Regions from separate parts of the Homo sapiens genome. Here all the other regions are linked to region 1. The links are contacts of gene promoters, found by promoter capture Hi-C in blood cells and fetal thymus (Javierre and others, 2016). All regions are on one chromosome and are shown on one strand. Each heading gives the region's core, a stretch centred on a gene start or on the middle of the fragment in contact. The rest is flanking DNA. Distances are from core to core; before and after follow the strand shown.

Region 1 (4,569 bases), core at 1,474-3,973:
TCAGCTGCCCAAAGTGTTGGGATTACCAGCGTGAGTGTGAACCACGACGCCTGGCCGAGGATAAATTCTTTAGCCTGGTATTTGAATCCATGCCTCCTTCCTCTGTTCTCCTTCTTCCTCCCCTGCCCTGGTTTCATTCCCTTTAAACTCTCCATCTCCCATCTTAATGTTAATGAATTACTTGTTGATGCCTGAACATACCCTTTTATCTGTTGCTCCCTGTTGTTACACATACTGAGTTAAACATCTTTCCCTGCCCCTTTTTACCTGAGAAACTTCCTGTTGATCCTCTGGAACTCAGGTCAGAGTATATACCTCCTTCTGGAAACCTTCCCTGACCATTCCCCAATCTGGAAAGATGTCCTCCTTCTGTGCTCTGTAACTTTCTTTTTTTCTTTTTTTTTTTTCAGGGTGTCTCTGTTGCCAGGCTGGAGTGCAGTGGCGCCATCTTGGCTCACTGCAACCTCCACCTCCCGAGTTTAAGCAATTCTCCTGCCTTATCCTCCTGAGTAGCTGGGATTACAGGCACCACCATACCCAGCTAATTTTTATAATTTTAGTACAGATGGGGTTTCACCATGTTGGCCAGGATGGTCTTGATCTCCTGACCTCGTGATCTGCCTGCCTTGGCCACCTAAAGTGCTGGGATTACAGGTGTCAGCCACCACGCCTGGCATATTTATTTATTTATTTATTTATTTATTTAGAGGTAGAGCCTCATTCTGTTGCCCAGGCTAGAGTGCAGTGGCACGATCTCGGCTTACTGCAACCTCTGCCTCTTGAGTTGAAGCGATTCTCCTGCCTCAGCCTCCTGAGGAGCTGGGACTAAAGTTGCCTGCCACCACACCCTGCTAATTTTATATTTTTGGTAGAGATGGGATTTCACCATATTGGTCAGGCTGGTCTTGAACTTCTGACCTTAAGCGATCCGCCAGCCTTGGCCTCCCCAAGTTCTGGGATTACAGGTGTGAGCCACCACGCCCAGCCTCTGTGACTGTTTAACTCACTAATCCCCCTCTACTGTCTCTGTGTCCCCAGCATGCAGGATACGGGTGGAGCATCACCATGAATGGGCGTTTTGAAGCAACCTTCTCCTCCCCACTTTTCTCCCCCTAGTTCAGGCAGGTTAGATACAGGGAGGAACAGGTGCTATGGCTCCGAGAGACAATGGCTATAACCTCTAGGTAAACCTCCCCAAGGGAAACAATATTTGAGAGAAGTACCCAGGAGAACCTAGGAGAGAGCCTAGGCTCAGCCTTTGGGGAAGCCAGCTGCCTTCTACAGCTCTTAGTGGCAGCCTCCCAGAACAAACCGTAAGAGTACTTCCTTCTGGAACAATAATAATAATCCAGGCTGGGGGCTCATTGGCTCATGCCTGTAATCCCAGCACTTTAGGAGGCAGAGGAGGGCGGATCACCTGAGGTCAGGAGTTCGAGACCAGCCTGACCAACACGGTGAATCCCTGTCTCTACTGAATACAAAAAATTAGCCGAGTGTGGTGGTGCGCGCCTGTAATCCTAGCTACTTGGGTGGCTGAGGCAGGAGAATCACTTGAACCTGGGAGGCAGAGGTGCAGTGAGCCGAGATTACGCCATTGCACTCCAGCCTGGGCAACAAGACAGAACTCCGTCTTGAAAAAAAAAATCTGTAATATTTACTGAGTGATTTCCATGTTCCAGGCAGTATTCTCATTGTTTTACCTGTACTTGCATTTACCTTATGTAATTGTCTCAAAAACCATGACGCCAGGCACTTAGAGATTAACTTGCTCAAGGTCAAAAGTAAATGATCGTCAGGATTGAAATCCGAGCATTTTTTTCTAGAGCCCATGCTAGTGACCACTATACCTGTGTTGCCTTTCTGGCCTCTGATCTCCAGTTTCCAACAAAGACACATCTGCCTAGCTTCTATGGGAAAGGAAATCGGAGGGTCCTAGGACAAGGACCAATAGGTAAGTTTCCCTTCGCCTCCTCCCTATCCTCTTACAGGAAAACAGGTTTAGGGGTGGATCTGAGAGTTTTCACAGAGTGAAGAGGAAGAGGAGCTCCCAAATGGCAGGCGCCTCTGGAGGCTTCCAGAGAAAAAAGGAGAGAGCGTGGGAAAAGGGCAGGCTGGGAGGTGGGAGCGGCGAGGAACGGGGAGCTGACCACAAGCCCAGGATTCCAGACCAGGCTTATGTCTCTTAGACTCAGCGTAACCTTGGATAAGTCCTTGCTTCTTTCTGAGACTCAGTTTCCCCGTCTGTAAAATAAGGGTAAATATAAAACCGGCTCATCCGCCCCTGCCAAAAGAGAGGACAGGGAGAAGGCCCTGTCTGGGGTCTAGGCTGACACGCTGCAGCTAGGATTAGGTGAGCTTCCGAGCTCAGTCGTGAGACCCCATCCTCATGGCAAGGCCGCGCTAAGATCTCTGGACCTCTGCTTGCTGGGTGGGTGGTTGGGGGCAGAGCATGGGCCAAATGCCCGGCTCTGCAGGCTGCGCCCACTCTTCTCGCACCTCCTCAGCCCTCCCTAAAGGAGTCTCAATCCCGGGGGAGTGGCAGTTGCGGGCGACCAAGCAGTCACCGGCTGCGCTGCGGCGACCTCCCGGGAAGCTGCGGCCGGCGGGGTCCGAAGAGCATCACGTCATCCTTTCCCCCAGGAGCCCGCCCCCTCCCAGACGGCGCCTGCGCAGGCGCGGTAGGAGGAGGGTCACGGTGGGGGCTGTCCACGCGCTCTCCGCCCTTCTCCAGGCTCGCTCGGGCCGCGGCGCTCTCGGCTAGCTGCAGCGGCGGCGGCGCGGAGGGGAAGGCATCCAGGATGCGGTGCGGGGCGGCCCGGTGCCCCCCCGCCCCGTCACGGCAGCCGCGGCGGCCGAGGGGACCGGGCCAGGGCCGGGGGCGGCGGCCCGAGCCGCGGTAGCGGCGGCGGCGGGAGGGGCGGCCTGAGGGCGGACGGGCGGGCGCCCGGGTTGCGGGGGCTCGGTGCCGCTCCGCACTGCCCGGCCGGTCTCGGCCCCGGCGCCATGAGTGGCGGCGGCGGCGGAGGGGGCTCGGCGCCCAGTCGCTTCGCCGACTACTTTGTCATCTGCGGACTGGACACGGAGACCGGGCTGGAGCCGGACGAGCTGTCGGGTGAGTGCGCGCCGAGCCCGGGGCGCTTTCCCGCGCCCGCTGTCGTCGGGGACCCCAGAAGAAACCTTCCTTCAGCCCCGCTTTGTCCCGGGAGCCGGGCGAGTGTCGGCCGGGAGGACCAGGGCGGGCGCGGGCGAAGGGGGCTTTGGACTGGAGGGGGGAAACGGATGAGGGGCTCTGAGCCATGAGGGGTCCAAACCTACGGCCCGCTGCGCAGTGGCCACGTCTTCGGCGACCAGAAAGAGGGAGGGTTGTGTGTTCTCAGTTTGGTGTAGGTTGAGTGACTTCGTTTAAAATAAAGGAAAGCTTGTCCTCTGGCACCCATTAGGGAGGGAAGGCGTCCCACGTCCTAGTGAAAGTAAGTTCCACCCAGACTTAAAAAAAAGGAAAACAAAAACTTGGTGAGTTTATCTGGCCACTTCCCAAGAAGCTTGTGATACTAGTTCCTCAAAACCGTTATACCCCAGCCCTGGGCTGGGCCCCCTGAGTCAGATTGCAGCTCTGCGCGTCTGGATGGGATATGAAGTAATAAAGTGAACTTGGGCGGCACCAAGAAGAGTAGGAACTCCCTTAGCCTTGGAAAGGGCTTGTATCCCGGGGCCATGCCTTTTTTGAAAAGTAATTTATGTCCTTTATGAGGACAGAGGCGTTTGTGAATAAAAGGGTAGCAGCATTGTAGTTGGAGAGGCTTGGTGTGTTCTGATGCGTTTCAAGTCATATTTGAAAGGGAAAGTGATGAGGGGAGTCAAAGATGGGGCCCTGACCAGATTTGGCACTCACTGCAGAAGGCCGTGAAAATTATACAGTCCCCGTGAATTTTCCACTGCACTGTCATTGGAGTCTTTGAATTGTAACAGTTTTGAAAATAAGTTTTTGTCTGGAGTTTCCAGTTAGTGGGTTTCAAGTGGGTGGAGGTTTGTCGGGTTGTACTTTAAGGTTGTGTCATCCTGATGAGGGGGACTCCTTTTCACTTTTCTGTCACTGTAAAGTTTCTCTTTCGAAAGTGATTATCCTGTTGACTAATCTTACTCGGCTTCAACGATGACAAGACAGTTTTGTTTTTGGGCACCAGAAAAAGTCCAGTGTTTCTTTTTTTTTTTTTTTTTTTTTTTGAGACGGAGTCTCGCTCTGTCGCCCAGGCCGGACTGCGGACTGCAGTGGCGCAATCTCGGCTCACTGCAAGCTCCGCTTCCCGGGTTCACGCCATTCTCCTGCCTCAGCCTCCCGAGTAGCTGGGACTACAGGCGCCCGCCACCGCGCCCGGCTAATTTTTTGTATTTTTAGTAGAGACGGGGTTTCACCTTGTTAGCCAGGATGGTCTCGATCTCCTGACCTCATGATCCACCCGCCTCGGCCTCCCAAAGTGCTGGGATTACAGGCGTGAGCCACCGCGCCCGGCCCAGTGTTTCTTATGAAAAAAAAATTAGGCGGGGCGCGGTGGCCCACCACCCGGCGGC
Region 2 (4,075 bases), core at 1,383-3,882, 1.0 Mb before region 1:
CTTCATTAATCCATCGTAAACGTGAGGACTGACTGCCAGGGAGCACACTAACGCTTCACGTATGCTAATCATTTTACAGTTTACCAAGCACGGCCACATCCCAGTCTACTTTGAGCTTCACAGCCACCCTTGAGTCAGGCAAGGAAGGTAACATTCCTTTTCCCATTTCAGCAGGTAGAAAATTCAAGCTCAGAGAGGGGAGGTATCTGCAGAGAGGGGAAGTCACCCTGCAGGTAGGAAGCAGCAGAGTCCCTACTCGGCCCGACACGCTAGCACGGCCGACTGGGGCGCGGCGTGGATTCCTCTAGGCTGGGGTCACCAACTTCTCAAGGGGCAAAGGAGAGTCCTAGCCCCCGCCCAAAGAATTTGTGCCTGTTCATGATGAATCACGCTAGACACGTTTGTCACCCGTTTGTGCTCTTTCATCACAGCTTCTTCTCTTTCTTACTTCTCTCCTGGGGGCCAAACTGGGAAGGAAAGGCTAAGCCACGGGGCTTCCTGCTTCGTGCTTGTGGGTTTCTGGGGTCCTACTAACCACTCCTCTAATCGAATGTCCTGAAGCCCAGCGACTCGACGGAGAGGCCAAAGGTGCGAGACCACTAGCCAAACAGGCTTCTAGTCCTCACCTCCCGGCAATTCGCTGTGTGAAGGTGGGCGAGTCATGTCCCATCTCTCGAGTCCCCATCTTAGAGCCGGTCCCCAGCAGACCTTTAAGCTTCCTTCCTACTCTGCCATATGGCTCTGAGCTCCGGTGCAAAGGCGGCTGGGCAGTGGGTCGCGCGGACCTTGCCCAGAGTGGTCTGTCTGGGCCGCGCACTGCTGGCTTAGCTGCCTTTTCACTCTCGGGACTCAACAGTGGACATTGCACCTGGGGAAGAAATGGCCGCGCGGAAGTTATTTAAGGACTCTTCCTGGAAGGAGTCACCTGAGCGGACCTGAATTCCATCTGAGGACGGAGGACAGATTCCGGGCCCTGACCCTGGCCCTGGTAAGGGGTTGGGACGCGGAGGGTTAGAGGAGTGCAGCGCGGCGCACTGGTCTGGATCCGGCCGCCCGGCTGGGCGCAGGGCAGTCACCGAAGTGGCCTGGCCGGGCGACTAGTCCGTCTGCACCGCAGACAGCAGCTATTACTGAACGCCTGCTCGGTGACCAGGAGCCTCCCCAGCCTAACTATTGTTCTTCTCCCTTGTCTCCCATTTCCTTTTCCTTTCACTTTATCCTCTGCGAGTCAAGCTCTTCGCGCAGATCCAGGACTGGCTATCAGTCGCTCTGAGGATGCGACCTACTTGTCGCCAGCTTCCACTTGGTTCCGCGCCAGGACAGGTTTTACTTTCATTTCTCCCGCGCGCGCCTCCGACTGCTGGGGAGGTCAAGGACAGCTAGGCGTCGGCCCACGGCCAGGGAAGGTCCCGTGGTCTGGACTCGTTCCTTCCAGTCTCCACCAGTCCTGGGGGGTGGGGCGCGGCGGGGGTGTTCGTTCTCCAGAGAACTCTGCGACTGTACCTCGCTGCCACCTCGCTGCCTCCTCGCTGCCCTTTACAAAAGCTCGTGATTCCGTGGGGGAAACTTGAGCTGTGGCTCTGCCAGGAGGATCGCGAAGCAAGTGCCCTTGGTTCAAACTCCTCTTTGAGCTGCAGGCAGCTTCAAAAAGGAAAGCAAGCCCAGGAGTGTAGGGAGACTCAGAGGCTAGGCTCTGCCAGCCTCGGGTGCCTATGCCAGCAACCTCTTGGCTGTGACAAGAATTCCCACCTGAGAGTCTTGGCATGCACTTTATCAGCCTGGTGCACTTTGCCGCTCTGGCACTTAGAGATCTGTCACTTGAGAACCAAGTCAATTCTTTAAGTAAAATCTTGGATTGGCAGCTCAAAGTATTTTCCTAGAAAGCCCCTATCTTGGAGTGAGTGAGTGTGTGCGCGAGCGCGCACCCCGCTTGCATGGGTGAGTAGCAGGGGCTAGAGTGCTCCCCAAAGCTTCGTGGGTTTAAGTCGAAAAAAGATAAGGAGTTTGTTAAATCTGGGCATCTATGTTTTTTCTCGTGAAATCTCGAGTTTGTTTAATTAATCATCGTTAACGACAAAAAAAAATCACTAGAATGCATTTCTGGTTCAGTGGTTCTATGGAGAAGGAAATGCTGCAGTGGGAGTTCTGATCCTGGCAATTTATTAACATAAGTTGCATCCATTCAAGTGGCAGTGATTGTAGATTCACGTTGAGCAAGGACAGTACAAGGAAGGAAGGAAGTGAAGGAAGAAACATCTTTAAATTTCTGGCAAGAAAAGAGAAAAGAAAAAGAAAAAAAAATCCTTGTTAATGAAGATCTACTTTTTTTGTGTGCTCCAGAATTTCAAAAGGTCAGATTACAAATAAACCTCCAAACCACTGTAATAAATGTGTACATCCTGACATTAGGGAGACACACATACACATATGCTAAAGGGTTTTTGCGTAATGGTGTTTCAACTTCTTCACATTCCAATTGAATGATTTTTAGGCCCTATATCCAAGCCTGATTCTTAGTAAAGTTTGGAGTTTAAAAAAATATGTGGTAGTGGTTTCTCAGCTAGCACTGTGGACACAGTTCTTAAAGCCAGAGTGGCCATACTCAGGTCTTTCAGAGAAGCATTGAAAAATAATAAATATCAATGATATTAATAAGAATAACTAAAATGTGAGTAGCTAAGTGCATTGCATAATTATCTCAGATGCCTCCTTTATCAAACAGGAAATTTTATGATGCATTTATTATTAATATAGTTCAAAATGTCTTTTAAGCTGAGGACTTGTTTACAAAGTTCACTTGAAAACAAAGTTCAAGATGCATCCTGAAGTCATAACACAAAGTGATTTAGAGAAAGAACACAATCAGCCTTGTGGATTTGATCACTTACAAGGAGAAGTAAAGCAGGATACAAAGCCCAGGGCACTTTTTTGGGATCTCTGACTTCTCTAAGGACCTAATAAAAATATAGATCCTTTCCAGAAAAATGAACATGTACATAAACCGATTAAAGTATAAAATAGGCATACAGTTCCGGGAGGTTGACCAAGTTTAAAACCCTGACACAGAATAAAAAACACTGTTTCCATATTTTAAATTTCTGTCTGGTTTATAGTGGTAAGGGCAAGGAGGACAGTTAACCTCCCTCTTTAGGGCATAATATTTTCCAGAGCATCAGCATAAAGAAAAGTAATGCGTTTGCTGCCTCATTTTTGTGCTCCTGTACAAAACAGGCAGAGAGTAACAGTCAGTTCTTGTACATGGTAAAGCCAGAAGGCAAACCTCCCTGAAGCTTAAATAAGGTAAATTACTGCAGAACAAATGAAAGAGAAGAGATGGTCCAGTACAGTGGCTCGTGCCTGTAATCCTAGCACTTTGGGAGGCTGAGGCAAGTGGATCTCTTGAGCTCAGGAGTTCAAGACCAGCCTGGCAACATGGCAAAAATCCATCCCTACAAAGAAAAAAAAAAAAAAAGAGAGAGAGAGAAGAGAAAGTAGTAAACCTAAAGAAGCTTGTTACAATAATACCTGTAACAGGACAAAATGAAATTACTTCAAGAGAAATTTGCTACAGAGGGCACAATAAATGGCATTAATGAATGGATGATAAAAGAGATGATTAGGCCATTTGAATCATCCATAGCCAAAGAGAATGGTGTTAATGAAAGCAACCATCATGCTACTTGTCTCCAGATAGGGATCCTGTGATATCAGATTAGAAGCACCTGGAAAGAAGCAATTATTTTATATATGTATATATATTTATATATATTTTTTTCTTTTTATAGAGATGTGGTTTCATCATGTTGCCCACGCTGGTCTTGAACTCCTGATCTCAAGAGATCCACTCGCCTTGGCCTACCAAAGTGCTAGGATTACAGGTATGAGCCACTGTGCTCAGCCAAGAAGCAATTCTGATTTATAAGCCTGAATGAATTGATAGTTTTTTCATTCTTTCAACAAATATTTACTGATTATATATTATATACCCAGCACTGTGCTAAGTTCTCAACATACAGTAATCACCAATGCAGTCATCAACAAACTTACCCTCAACGAGCTTACAGCCTAGTGACGT
Region 3 (4,505 bases), core at 356-2,855, 1.5 Mb before region 1:
ATTCGTGTTGCTGTTCCATAGGCTGAAAGGGCACCCTGTATTTTCATGATTGACAGAAAAAGGTGTAAGTGGAAGAGAGACACTACACCAGGCTTACAAAAAACACATCATATGAGAGATTAAAAAACATTACTAAAATACCTGTATATCAGTCTGTTCTAAGATTTGTGCCAATTCAATCCAAGCTTCAACATCATCGGGATACTGTTCTGTGACCTTCTTCAAATGGCCCTGGGATAAAAGAGATTGTTAAGCTGAAGTATTCCATCTATAGGTTGTCAAAATAAAAAGTGGGGGCTATGTAAGTCTGTTTAATAAATCCATTGTTTGTTATCTAAACTGGAACAAGCTCAGCTAACAAAACTGTTTCTATCATATTTCTACTAGCAATAACAGGAAATGAGAAATGGGAGTTTTGGGACAGCTAACAGAAAACAGCTAAGACTTTAAAAAAAAGATGTACCTTGGCAATATCTCGTTTTTCTTGATCTTCTGAGGCAGCATAGAGAGAGCCGAGAATTTTCATAGTTTCGTAATTATTAGGATAAGCTTTCAAAACCTTCTCAAAGCACTGAGATGCATTTTCTTTGTCACCTCGATAAATATACATTTGTCCCAAACCAAAAAATGGGAGCACAAAAGAGGATGAGGCAAACTGTGTGGCTTGATAATAGTACTGAAAAGCTTGGTCATAATCTTCCTAAAGAATGAAAATTAAAAAAGACCAATATGTACAAAAGTATTGGAAAGACTTAAAACACTATAAGTAAAAAGATTAGACATTTAGAGAAGTTATAAAATTACCTGAACATGGAATGATCTAGCTAGCTGATAGCAGCTCTCTGCTTGCATAGCTTCCACTTCTGTATTATGGAATGCATGGAGGGCCAGATGCTGGACTTTACTATAATCCTGAACAAAGATCAGAAAGTCAACTGAGTGAATTCATAAGACTAGCTTGCATAGCTGTTTTATCTTAGACTAACACTTCGTTTACCTGTAAGATACATTTCCATCTTCTTCATAAATAGTTGCCTTTCAGTGCTATAACAGTTATAACCTAATCAATAATTCACTATGAAAGGGGAGTATGTTTCTACAGCCAGAAAGAGTAAAGCACTGTGGTTAGTCTAAGGTCACATAACTATTAACCACAGTGCTTTACTCTCTCTGGCTGTAGAAACATACTCCCCTTTCATAGTGAATTACTGACTTTAGACTATTAACTCTTCCTCAACTTATCCACCCACAAAATGGGAATAAGATTACCTACATCATAGAATTATTGTGAAGATTACATAAGTAAATACATAAAGCGCACTTTTTTTTTTTTTTGAGACAGGGTCTCACTCTGTTGCATGGGCTGGAGTGCAGTGGCGCCATCATGGCTCACCACTGCAGCCTCGACCTCCCAGGCTCAAGTGATCCTCCCACCTCAGCCTTCTGAGTAACTGAGACTACAGGTATGTGCCACCATGTCCAGCTAATTTTTAAAAATTTCTGTAGAGATGAGGTCTCACTATGTTGCCAGTGTTGGTCCTGAACTCCTGGGCTCAAGCAATCCTCCCACCTAGGCCCCTCAAAATGCTGGGATTACAGGCATGAGCCACTACTCCCAGTAGATTTAGTATTTTAAGAAACCTAAAATACCACTGCTTCTACAGAATTAGTGGCAACTTAAAAAATACAACATGATTAACATGCAAAATAAAAATGTCAGTGACTCCTTGTTCCCTACATAGCATGTCCAAATTCTGGTATTACAAAAATGCTCCACTATCTGAATCCAAAGCATTGCCTACCATAAGTATATTATACACTATTTCATAGATTTGTGTGTCTTTCCCTTTTCAACTCTCTAGTGACCTCTTCCTAAAAACCTAGTTCAAAAGCTCTGCAGCCTTGGTGAAAATTCACCTAAGCCATCTGACCACTTCCTCATTTCTCTACCATAAATGAGTAGATACCTTTATTTTTACACTTACATTTGTTTACATGGCTGCTCTTTCTATGAAATTGAACTCCTTGAGTACAGACACCATGTTTTACTAATCTTCACATCACTACCACAGTGTTGGGTACAGTATATAGGGGTCAATAAATATTAAGCAAATAAATGAATAAACAAATGTAGGTACCCCCAGGTAACTAATACAACAAACTCTATAATTTGGAGGGGGGAAAAAATCTGACATTTTCAAATTTCTTTCCAAGTTTAAAAAAGAAATAAAATATCAATTGCAGTACAGAAAAACAAAAATCAGAATTTAAAAATAAATGACTTCTACCTTTTTGAAGAAAAAGTGATTTGCCAAATGGTTCAATACCATAGGGTTGCTAGGATCAATAGTATAGGCTCTGGAAAGAAGCTGGACACCATTTTTAATGGAATCAGCCTAAAAGAAAACATTGCAACAAGGTGGAGTGAAAACAATACTAAATTAGCACTTTTCAAGAAGTTTTCTTTAGTCACAAGAAATAAGTTATAAATCCTAAGATCAGACACTAAAACGGATTAGAAGCTTCTTATGATTTTAAATATCTATATTGCATTTGTAATTAAATCTCTCTTTTAATCCTTAATTTTTTTGTGTGTCACTTTTTTCCCCTTTTTATTTTCTTGTTCAGTTCTTGCTTGAGACTTATCTCATCTACTTTATTAGTCCCTGCCCCTACTTCTCCCACAAAGAGCCACCTTTGTTTTTATTTATTTATATTAATTTTTATTTTTTTCAGACAGGATCTCACTGTGTTGCCCAGGATGGAGTACACTGGCATGAACACAGCTCACTGCAGCCTTGACCTCCTGGGCTCAAACAATCCTCCCACTTTGATCTCCCAAAGTGTTGGGATTATAGGTGAGAGCCACCATGCCTGGCCTCTACCACCTTTGGTTTTATTGATCCGAGCTGTTTTCTTCGTGTGACTGATACTGGTGGATTACCCAACAGCCATTTGGGTTGGTAACATCCTGCTAACAGAATCCAGATTTTGTAGCCTGTGAAAATCTTTTGAGTTTAGGAAGGAAAGTTCCCTTCCCCCCTTCCCCAGGCCCGGGGGATGAATCATGATTGATCTACACCAGTCCAGATAATCTTTTCCTCTGGCCTAAGGTAGTGGTTCTCAACTGGGGATGAAGTCATGTTTGGTTATCACAATTGGAGGAACGCTATCGGCATTTAGTGGGTAGAGGCCCGGGATGCTGTTAAAACATTCTATAATGGAAGGGACAGTTCCCCACAACAAAGAATTATCCAGCCCAAAACATCAATAGTACTGAGGCTGAGAAACCCAGGTATCCCTGTTTTGGACAATTATACATAAGGGGAAGCATGATGGAGAGCTTCCTTCTCAATATAAGACAGGGCTTCTCTAAGAGAAAGCCTTTTTATCCTTTCTCTTTCCTCCCTCTTTATAAGACCGATGTAATAATGAGAAGCTGGAGATGCTGCAGCCATCTTGTGACTATAAGGTGACAGACATGATGAAGAAAGGCTGCACATTAAGGAAGGGAGGACGGAATTATATAAAATCATAGGTTTGACGACAAGGACCTATCAAATTTGAGACCTTTGACAACTGGTTTAGTAAACACTAAAAGCCCTTATGTTTAAGGCACTGGGATGTGTTTTTTGTTACGTGCAATGAAAGCATTCCAAACTGATATACAAGTCTACGACCCCTTATCTGAGATTCTGAAATCTAAATGCCTTAAAAAACAAGTTTTGTTTTCTGTTTTTTTTTTTTTGGTAATCTTGGAGCAAACTTATTTGGTGGCAATACTACCTGAATTGTAACCCTATCCTACTAGTGTAAACAGTCTATCATTTTGCCACAGAAATATAAGTTTGCTTTTGGGGTAGTGCCCCAATAACTAGGTGTTATACATTACAAAGTACAGGTACCCTTCTGTAATCTGTAATCTTAATTTCTAAGACACATCTGGCTCCAAGAGTTTTAGATAAGAGGCTGTGGGCCTGACAAAGCAGTTAGGAGCTAGATACTTTTTTCATTTACATACCTCTTTATTGTTGAGTTCTAGAACAGCCAGTCCAACCAATGCTCCCACGCATTTGGAATTGAGTTCCAGGGCTCTGCTGAATGCCAGACGAGCTTTTTCCAGTTTGTTAAGTTTCACAAAGCAATGACCCATTCCTAAACGAACTTCCGCTATAAAATGAAGTCATTCAATCTATCAAACTAGGGCATTTTTTAGAGTTCAATTACAAAAATGCTTAAACATTCTCTATTTATGAGTTGCAAAATCCCCAAAATTAACCTCAGTATAACTACACTACAGAATCTTTTGACCTATCACAAACTTGGTTTCCTTGGAGGCTACATCATACCATATTCCAACCCTCTCCTCTATCACTGACACATTTCTCACTATAGAACAGAACACCTATAATACTGGTATTCTTCTTGTCTTCTAACATCGCTGCTAACCATACCTTCAATTTCTCATTATTGAAGAACAATTTTTAAACAGAGAACAAAAGTTC

The links. The method cuts DNA at HindIII sites, captures the fragments that hold promoters and counts their contacts. A CHiCAGO score of 5 or more calls a contact.
Region 2: a fragment that was not itself captured here is called in contact with the fragment with the promoter of DENND5A in region 1 in 1 of 17 cell types (activated CD4 T cells); the score reaches 5.2 in activated CD4 T cells.
Region 3: a contact is called between a fragment that was not itself captured here and the fragment with the promoter of DENND5A in region 1, in 1 of 17 cell types (neutrophils). The highest score is 5.0, in neutrophils.

The regions. Positions count from the first base shown.
Region 1 is chr11:9,263,504-9,268,072 of GRCh38, reverse strand. It overlaps DENND5A (DENN domain containing 5A), which reads left to right and starts at 2,723. Exons shown (of 23, transcript NM_015213.4): 1 at 2,723-3,112. The coding sequence starts at 3,004. RefSeq lists enhancers at 2,422-2,491, 3,572-3,691, 3,852-4,191 and silencers at 2,772-2,871, 2,922-3,281. The HindIII fragment of the contact is 8,855 bases long and covers 1-3,420 here.
Region 2 is chr11:10,300,209-10,304,283 of GRCh38, reverse strand. It overlaps a transcript of SBF2 not described here. Among named protein-coding and RNA genes, the nearest start is that of ADM, 2.8 kb to the left of the region's middle. RefSeq lists a silencer at 240-299 and enhancers at 1,224-1,403, 1,424-1,503. The HindIII fragment of the contact is 1,320 bases long and covers 1,973-3,292 here.
Region 3 is chr11:10,759,838-10,764,342 of GRCh38, reverse strand. CTR9 (CTR9 component of Paf1/RNA polymerase II complex) reads right to left here. Exons shown (of 25, transcript NM_014633.5): 6 at 4,022-4,170; 7 at 2,289-2,396; 8 at 805-912; 9 at 464-700; 10 at 142-231; 11 at 1-35. Among named protein-coding and RNA genes, the nearest start is that of CTR9, 11 kb to the right of the region's middle. RefSeq lists enhancers at 1-557, 1,953-2,002. The HindIII fragment of the contact is 1,838 bases long and covers 687-2,524 here.